2 separate regions of the Homo sapiens genome follow, and region 2 is linked to region 1. Evidence: promoter capture Hi-C in human tissues and cell types (Jung and others, 2019). All regions are on one chromosome and are shown on one strand. The core of a region is centred on a gene start or on the middle of the fragment in contact, and the rest is flanking DNA. Distances in the headings are between cores, read along the strand shown. Region 1 holds the start of DALRD3 (DALR anticodon binding domain containing 3). Region 2 overlaps SLC25A20 (solute carrier family 25 member 20).

Evidence for each region. Contacts are between HindIII fragments. The study calls those that stand out against the background at their distance.
Region 2: a contact is called between a fragment that was not itself captured here and the fragment with the promoter of DALRD3 in region 1, in 1 of the 25 tissues and cell types used here (adrenal gland).

Annotation. Positions count from the first base shown.
Region 1 is chr3:49,015,874-49,020,000 of GRCh38, reverse strand. It overlaps DALRD3 (DALR anticodon binding domain containing 3), which reads left to right and starts at 1,421. Exons shown (of 12, transcript NM_001009996.3): 1 at 1,421-1,601; 2 at 1,683-1,978; 3 at 2,132-2,388; 4 at 2,488-2,567; 5 at 2,645-2,773; 6 at 3,154-3,227; 7 at 3,328-3,389; 8 at 3,490-3,572; 9 at 3,661-3,843; 10 at 3,915-4,028. The coding sequence starts at 1,437. It overlaps WDR6 (WD repeat domain 6), which reads right to left. Exons shown (of 6, transcript NM_018031.6): 6 at 4,050-4,127. RefSeq lists a silencer at 2,191-2,425 and enhancers at 1,874-2,645, 2,931-3,000. The HindIII fragment of the contact is 18,150 bases long and covers 1-3,917 here.
Region 2 is chr3:48,887,847-48,893,141 of GRCh38, reverse strand. SLC25A20 (solute carrier family 25 member 20) reads left to right here. Exons shown (of 9, transcript NM_000387.6): 2 at 1,070-1,162. Among named protein-coding and RNA genes, the nearest start is that of SLC25A20, 8.4 kb to the left of the region's middle. The HindIII fragment of the contact is 4,581 bases long and covers 575-5,155 here.

The DNA of each region.
Region 1 (4,127 bases), core at 172-2,671:
TGAGTAAGTTACAGTGAAATGAAGACATTTGGGAACCTTTGTGGGAGAAAGAAAAAGACCTTTCCTATTGGTAGAGGAGCAAGATACTCCAACTGAGGCCTATTTTCTATTATGGTCGCATTATTTGGTTGGCCCGTAAATGGCTGTTGCCTAAAACAGGAAGCTTTAAGGATCGTTGTTAAAGCACACCAGGTTAAAGGAGTCACATTAAAAGCTGGTCATTCTGAGCCGGGCGCGGTGGCTCACGCCTGTAATCCCAGCACTTTGGGAGGCCGAGGCAGGCGGATCACCTGAGGTCGGGAGTTCGAGGCTTGACAAACATGGAGAAACCCCGTCTCTATTAAAAATACAAAAGTAGCCGGGCGTGGTGGCGCGTGCCTGTAATCCCAGCTACTTGGGAGACTGAGGCAGGATAATCACTTGAACCCGGGAGGGGGAGGTTGCGGTGAGCCAAGATCACACCACTGTACTCCAGCCTGGGCAACAGGAGCGAAACTCCGTCTCAAAAAAAAAAAAAAAAAGTCTGGTAATTCTGGAAGCCATCATGATGGTTGTGATTTCTCAGGTATCAAGAGAAGAAAACCGCCAACTGTATCAGAGTGCTTATTTATTGGGCATAAAGACCACCCGGGCTGGGTGCAGTGGCTGATGCCTGTAATCCCAGCACTTTCGGAGGCCGAGGCGGGCAGGTCACGAGGTCAGGAGTTCGAGACCAGCCTGGCCAACATGGCGAAACCCCGTCTCTACTAAAAATACAAAAATTAGCCGGGCGTGGTGGCGGGCGCCCGTAATCCCAGCTACTCGGGAGGCTGAGGAGGAGAATCCTGTGAATCCGGGAGGTGGAGGCTGCAGTGAGCCGAGATCGTGCCACTGCACTCCAGCCTGGGAGACAAGAGCAAGACTCCGTCTCAAACAAACAAAAAAACACCCATATCTCAAACGAGAAAATGCTTGCAAATAACCTGAAACCGCGGAACACTATTCTTTTTAAAACGAGATATTTTAAGTAGGTCGTGAAAGTGGCCTTAATGTTATACTGCCTTATTCCAGTGACGAATATTCATCATGTGTAAAATGGGAGAAATGAAATGTTATTAAAACAAACATGTGAGACTTCGATGAGAAGAGACGGTACCCGGTCTAAGCGCCCACCGGGTCGCGAGGATCCTTTTCCTGGTTAAGGCCTGGGTCACAGCGAAAGAACCCTAGGCCCAGGGAGGGCCCCGAGATTTCAGATCCGGGGCCCGGCTGTGCAGGTGGACCACGCGGAAGGGGCGCTGGGGGCGGTAGGTCGAAAGCAGCCGACAGGGCTACCACTGGCGCACCTGTCCACTTACGGGGACCACCGCCGCATCCCCGCCCCAGCTAGTCGGTCCTTTCCGGAAGTTCCACCTCCCTAAATTTTTTTCCGGTTCCGCTTACTCCTTCCGGTCACCATGGCGACCAGGCGCCTTGGGGTCGGGGAGACGCTGGGGGCCCTCAACGCGGCCCTGGGGCCAGGCGGTCCGGTGTGGATCAAGGAGACGCGCACCCGCCACCTGCGTTCCCGAGACTTTCTGGCACCGCACCGCGCGCTGCAGGCGCGCTTCGATGACGGCCAGGTGGGCGTGAGCCGGGCGGGGCCGTGCGGCCGGGAGATGGGCCCCGTGCCGTGGCTCTTTTACACGCCCGTTCTCCCGCAGGTTCCGGAGCATTTGCTCCATGCCCTCGCCTGCCTGCAGGGCCCCGGTGTGGCCCCGGTGCTGCGCTGCGCGCCGACCCCCGCGGGTCTGTCTCTCCAACTGCAGCGGTCCGCCGTCTTCGAGCGCGTCCTCAGCGCCGTGGCCGCCTATGCCACGCCCGCCTCGCCTGCCTCGCTGGGCCAGCGCGTCTTACTACACTGCCCAGCACTGCGCAGCTCCCCCTGCGCACTCCGCTTGAGCCAGCTGCGTACGGTGCTCGTGGCCGATCACCTGGCGCGAGCCCTGCGCGCTCACGGGTGAGCGGGGCCGCGGGGCCGGAATGGAGAAAGTGGGACTGCCGGGTACCTAGAAAGCGAGCGGCGCCGCCCGTGGGGACTGCGGCTGGAGGTGGGAAGTCGTGGCGAGCTGGACCAGGTGCTCAGACTGAGGCGGCCGCCCTCCCTTCGCAGGGTGTGCGTGCGCCTAGTGCCAGCTGTGCGGGATCCGCACATGCTGACCTTCCTGCAGCAACTGCGGGTGGACTGGCCCGCTGCCTCGGAGAGAGCTTCCTCCCACACCCTGAGGAGCCACGCCCTTGAAGAACTTACCTCTGCTAATGACGGGAGGACACTGTCCCCTGGCATCCTAGGCAGACTGTGTCTGAAGGAGCTGGTGGAAGAACAGGGCCGCACAGCTGGCTATGACCCCAACCTGGACAACTGTCTGGGTAGGACCTGAAGCCTAGCAGGGCCAGAAAAGGCAGGAGGGGGTTAGGGGCACATCTCTGCTTCTTGTCAGTCTCAGCACCTGTCTGTTCTCTTTTCAGTGACTGAGGATCTCCTCTCTGTGCTGGCTGAGCTGCAAGAGGCTCTATGGCATTGGCCCGAGGACAGCCACCCAGGCCTGGTTAGTGACTCCCAGCCCTGTAGGTTCTCCCAAACCAAGTATACTGTACTTCCACAGTTATGATTGTCCTCCCTTAGGCTGGGGCCTCAGATACTGGTACAGGCGGCTGCCTGGTTGTACATGTTGTTAGCTGTGAGGAGGAGTTCCAGCAACAGAAGTTGGACCTGCTTTGGCAGAAGTTGGTTGACAAGGCTCCACTCAGACAGGTAGGTTAATAATGATGGTGGAGCTCCCCACCACCTAACCCCCAACCTCAGAGGGCCCTTGAAAACCCACCGAGGGGCTTGTTAGCTGACAGAAACCAACACTTGACCTTGGGGGAGTTGCTGGACTTGAGAGGGCATGTACAGCAGGTGCAGAGGCTCTGGGGAAGGGGGGTCTGTAGACACATCCCAAGAACACTGAAGACCAGGTTGAGAAGGATGAACCATGCGTAGCCTGAGTGGCTGGGTAGACGGAGGCACTCAACCTGGCAGTTCCAATTTGAGGGAGTCTGGGCTGAGTAGAGGCACCAGATTTGGGCTCCTCAAGGGACTTCCTGGAGAGTAGCGCCAACTAGGCTGAGCCCCTGACATCTTTCTGACAGAAGCACCTCATCTGTGGCCCTGTGAAAGTAGCTGGTGCACCTGGCACTCTGATGACTGCCCCTGAGTACTACGAGTGAGTGAGGCTGGGAGGAACACCAACCTAAGCCAGGGTAATGAGGGGGGACTCTTTACCCAGGACCCTGCCCACTGGCCTTCCTCTCTTCCAAACACAGGTTCCGGCATACCCAGGTGTGCAAGGCCTCAGCACTGAAGCATGGTGGGGATCTGGCACAAGGTGTGCCTGGGAAACCCTGGCTATGTTCTGGGTTAGGGGCAGGTTTTTTGCATCCCTGCCCTTGCCTGCAGACTGACTGACCAACCCTATACTCCCTCAGACCCAGCCTGGACAGAGATCTTTGGTGTTCTCTCTGTGGCCACCATCAAGTTTGAGATGCTGAGCACAGCCCCACAGAGTCAGGTGAGCCTGGGAGCCTGACAGGGCCAGTGTTGGGGCACAGGGTGTGGTGGCTGCCTTCTCTCTCTGCAGCTGTGCTTCTATTCCCCAGCTCTTCCTGGCTCTGGCTGACAGCAGTATCTCCACGAAGGGCACAAAGAGTGGCACCTTTGTCATGTATAATTGTGCCCGTCTTGCCACACTCTTTGAGAGTTACAAGTGTAGTATGGAACAAGGTCTGTACCCCACTTTTCCTCCTGTGAGCAGTCTGGACTTCTCACTGCTACATGATGAGGTGAGTGTCCCTCCTGGTAGCTGGCACAAGGAGGCCTGGACTTCCCCTCCCAGCACCTTTCTCCCCAACAGGGTGAGTGGTTGTTGCTCTTCAACAGTATCCTCCCCTTTCCGGATCTGCTGAGCCGGACAGCAGTGCTGGACTGCACAGCCCCGGGGCTCCACATTGCTGTACGCACAGAGATGGTGAGGCATAGACAACCAGGACACTCTACACTCTATTCTTTATTCTGGCCTGGGGCACAAGAGCAAAGAGATGGGCCAGTGACTCAGTCTCTGTCTCTA
Region 2 (5,295 bases), core at 1,616-4,115, 130 kb after region 1:
GTGGGAGGATTGCATGAGCCCAGGAGGTCAAGGTTGTAGTGAGCTATTGACCACACCGCCGCACTCCAGCCTGAGTGACAGAGTGAAACCTTGTCTCCAAAAAAAAAAAGTATATATATATAAAGATAATAAGTATTGAAGATATGGAGAAATTGGGACCCTCCTAGACTGCTTATGGGAATATAAAATGGTGCAGCCACTTTGCAAAACAGTCTGGCAGTTCCTCAAAAGGTTTAAACAGAGTTGACATATAAGTTAGAAATTATGCCAGTGGATAAATACCTGTGATGGTTAATTTTATGTGTCACCTTGACTAGGCCACAGAGTACCTAGGTATTTGGTCACACATTATTCTGAGTGTGCTTGTGAGGGTGGTTTTGGATATTAACATTTGAATCTGTGGACTGATTAAAGCTAATTGTCCTCCCTAATGTGAGTGGACCTCATCCAGTTGAAGGCCTAAATAGATCAAAAGGCTGACTGACACTTCCTGCAAGTAAGAGGGAACTCCTGCCTGAATACTTGAGGTGGGACATTAGTCTTTTCCCGCCTTCAGACTTGAACTGAATCATTGGTTCTTTTTGGGTCTCAAACTTGCCGACTACAGATCTTGGGACTTCTCAACCTTTATAATTGTATGAGCCAATTGCTTATAATAAATCTCTTGATATATATCTCCTGTTGGTTCTGTTTCTCTGGAGAATTCTGACCAATACAATACCGAAGAGAACTGAAAACATATATCCACACAAAAAACTTGTACACAAATGTTTATAGCAGCATTATTCATAATAATCAAAAAGTAGGAAAAACACAAATGTCTATGAACTGATGAATAGGCAGGCATACAAAATGTGATTTATTCATACGATGGGATATTATTTGCCAATAAAAGGAATGAAGTACTAATGAAATGAAAGAGAAGTTTGAATCCAGCAGGTTAAGTGAATGCCAAAGACATGTACAAGGGTACAGCCTTCCCTGTTCAGTTTGGCAGACAGTTGGGCCATTGCTGCTGACAGGCAGTTCTGATTCTGGTAGGTGACTGCATTTTAACTTCTGTTTTCAGGTCCGACTGCAGACACAGCCACCGAGTTTGCCTGGACAACCTCCCATGTACTCTGGGACCTTTGACTGTTTCCGGAAGACTCTTTTTAGAGAGGTTGGTATATGGTGCTGGGCATTCCTCTTACTCAGAACACATTCACGGGGTTGATTTGTTACCCCCAAGGAGAGTAGGTTAACTGTGTGGTTCTGCTGGACAGCTAGCTCACAGCTGCCGCTCCTTCACCACGCCACCCTGTGCCCCCCTGTTGTCATCTGCTTTGGAGTCTCTGATAGTTCTAGCTACTGTTTTATACAGATGACTAAGGCTAATAAAATGGTTCTCTCTTTTGGAAGATGGAATTTAGACGACGGAGAACTAGTGAGTAATAATTGAGATGTGAAATGGAAGAAAATGTACATCTGAGCTGGGTGTGGTGGCTCACGCCTCTAATCCTAGCGCTTTGGGGGCCAAGGCAGGTGGATCACTTGAGGTCAGGAGTTTAAGACCAGCCTGGGCAACATGTAGAGAGTGTCATCTCTACAAAAAATGCAAAAATTAGAGGGGCATGGTAGCGCATGTACATCTGTAGTCCCAGCCACTCAGGAGACTGAGGTGGGAGGATCACTCCACCAGGAGGTAGAGTTTGCAGTGAGCCAAGATTGCACCACTGCACTCCAACCTGGGTGACAGAGTGAGACCCTGCCTGAAAAACAAAAAAAGGCCAATCATGGTGGCTTACGCCTATAATCCCAGCACTTTGGGAGGCCAAGGTGGGTGGATTGCCGGAGTTCAGGAGTTCAAGACCACCCTGGCCAACATCATGAAACCCCGTCTCTACTAAAAATACAAAAATTGGCTGTGCACGGTGGCATGCGCCTGTAGTCCCAGCTACTTGGGAGGCTGAGGCACGAGAATCGCTTGAACCCAGGACGGGGAGGTTGCAGTGTAGGGTCCAGCCCTACGGGGCTTAGCGGATGTTTTCCCCATGTGTGGAGATGAGAGATCATAAGAAATAAAGACACAAGACAGAGATAAAGAGAAAACAGCTGGGCCGGGGGGACCACTACCAAGACATGGAGACTGGTAGTGGCCTTGCATGGCTGGGCGCGCTGATATTTATTGAATACAAGACAAGGGGGTGGCTGGGCGCGCTGGCTCACGCCTGTGATCCCAGCACTTTGGGAGGCTGAGGCGGGTGGATCACGAGGTCAGGAGATCGAGACCATCCTGGCTAACACGGTGAAACCCCATCTCTACTAAAAATACAAAAAATTAGCCGGACGTCGTGGCGGGCACCTGTAGTCCCAGCTACTCGGGAGGCTGAGGCAGGAGAATGGTGTGAACCCAGGAGGCGGAGCTTGCAGTGAGCTGAGATCACACCACTGCACTCCAGCATGGGCGACAAAGCGAGACTCTATCTCAAAAAAAAAAAAAAAAAAAAAGACAAGGGGGCAGGGTAAGGAGGGTGAGTTATCCAAGTGATTGATAAGGTCAGGCAAATCACGTGATCATGGGATAGGGAGCCCTTCTGTTTTAGGTAGCCGAAGCAGAGAGGGAAGGCAGCATACATCAGCATTTTCCTCTATGCACTTATAAGAAAGATCAGGCCGGGCGCGGTGGCTCATGCCTGTAATCCCAGCACTTTGGGAGGCTGAGGCAGGTGGATCACAGGGTCAGGAGATCAAGACCATCCTAGCTAACACGGTGAAACCCCGTCTCTACTAAAAAAAATACAAAAAATTAGCTGGGCATGGAGGTGGGCGCCTGTAGTCCCAGCTACTCAGGAGGCTGAGGCAGGAGAATGGCGTGAACCCAGGAGGCGGAGCTTGCAGTGAGCCGAGATCCTGCCACTGCACTCCAGCCTGGGTGACAGAGCGAGATCAAAGAGGAACCAGGAGTATGGGAGGAACATGAAAGTGGACAAGGAGCGTGATCACTGAAGCACAGCGTCACAGGGAGGGGTTTAGGCCTCTGGAAAACTGGGCAGGCCTGGATAATATCCAGCCTCCCACAAGAAGCTGGTGGAGTAGAGTGTTCCCTGACTCCTCCAAGGAAAGGAGACTCCCTTTCATGGTCTGCTAAGTAACGGGTGCCTTCCCAGGCACTGGCGTTACTGCTTGACCAAGGAGCCCTCAAGCGGCCCTTATGCGGGCGTGACAGAGGGCTCACCTCTTGCCTTCTTGGTCACTTCTCACAATGTCCCTTCAGCACCGGACCCTATACCTGCCGGTTATTTCTTGTTTATATTAGTAATACAACAAAGAGTAATATTAAAAGCTAATGATTAATAATGTTTATACTAATGATTGATAATGTCCATGATCATCTCTATATCTAATTTGTATTATAACTATTCTATTTTCTTTATTATAGTGAAACAGTTTGTGCCTTCAGTCTGTTGCCTCGGCACCTAGGTAATCCTTTGCCCACACTGCAGTGAGCTGAGACTGCACCATTGCACTCCAGCCTGGGCAACAAGAGTGAAACTCTGTCTCAAAAAAAGAAAAAGAAAAAAGAAAATGTACACCTGCATCTGGATCAGTCAGTTTGATAGGGATCCATGTCAGAAGCGCATATGAATAAAGTCTGAAGGAAAAGTCAGCCAGTCCTAGAAACACTGAGAGAAGCTATCAGTCTCCAGTTCCCCTAGACAGGGACATTAAATTGGTTTGGAGTTATTATTATTATTATATATATATATTTTGAGACATGGTCTCACTCTGTTGCCCAGGCTTGACTACAGTGGCATGAACTTGGCTCACTGCAACCTCTGCCTCCCAGGCTCAAGAGATTCTCCTGCCTAAGCTTCCCGAGTAGCTGAGATTACAGGCATGTGCCATCATGCCTGGCTAATTGCACTCCAGCCTGGGCAAAAAGAATAAAACTCTGTCTCAAAATAAGAATAATATTAATAATAATAATAAATAACTTCATTAACACAGGTCTTAAAGACCTCATTGAGATCTTTTCCTTTGCTTCCTAAAATATAACTTTTTTTTTTTTGAGACGGAGTTTTGCTCTTGTTGTCCAGTCTGGAGTGCAATGGCACAATCTTGGCTCACCGCAATCTCTTGAACCATCTCCTTGGTTCAAGTGATTCTCCTGCCTCAGCTTCCTGAGTAGCTGGGATTATAGGCATGCACCACCATGCCTGGCTAATTTTGTATATTTAGTAGAGACAGGGTTTCACCATGTTAACCAGGATGGTCTCGATCTCCTGACCTCATGATCCACCCGCCTCAGCCTCCCGAAGTGCTGGGATTACAGGCATGAGCCACCACGCCTGGCCCTAAAATATAACTTTCATATAAACACTCTATTATAGTCTCTAAATTTATAGCCTTGATTAAATATACAGAAACTAAGTAGTAGTCATCCAGATAAAAAGGGAGTGATAGTAAGTGATGGACTCAGCCTTGGCGAAGTTGTTCCCAGGATTCCTGTAGGACTTGGGTGCAGAAGGAAGATCTTTTTAAACTATTTATTTATTTATTTATTTATTTATTTATTTATTTATTTATTTTGAGACAAGAGTCTTGTTCAGTTGCCCAGGCTGGAGTGCAGTGGCGCAATCTCGGTCACTGCAAACTCTGCCTCCCGGGTTCAAGTGATTCTCCTGCCTCAGCCTCCCGAGTAGCTGGGATTGCAGGCACCTGCCACCATGCCCGGCTAATTTTTGTGTTTTTAGTAGAAATGGGGTTTTACCATGTTGGCCAAGCTGGTCTCAAACTCCTGACTTTGTGATCTGCCCGCCTCAGCCTCCCAAAGTGCTGGGATTACAGGCATGAGCCACTGCATCTGGCTTAGGAAGATCTTGAGGCAGTGCCTGCCCAACCGTCCTTGAGTGAGGTGGTGCTACCCTTCTTTTTTTTTTTTTTTTTTTTTTCGAGATGGAGTCTTGTTCTGCCACTCAGACTGGAGTGCAGTGGTCCGATCTTGGCTCACTGCAACCTCCACCTCCTGGGTTCAAGTGATTCTCCTGCCTCAGCCTCCCAAGTAGCTGGGATTACAGGCACCTGCCACAATGCCCAGCTCATTTTTATAATTTTAGTACAGATGGGTTTTGCCATGTTGGCCAGCTGGTTTTAATCTCCTGAGCTCAGGTGATCTGCCTGCCTCAGCCTCCCAAAGCGCTGGAATTACAGATATGAGCCACCACGCCTGGCCTGCCCTTTCTTCTTCTTCTTTTTTTTTATGGAGTCTCATTCTGTCACCCAGGTTGGAGTGCAGTGGCACGATCTCAGCCC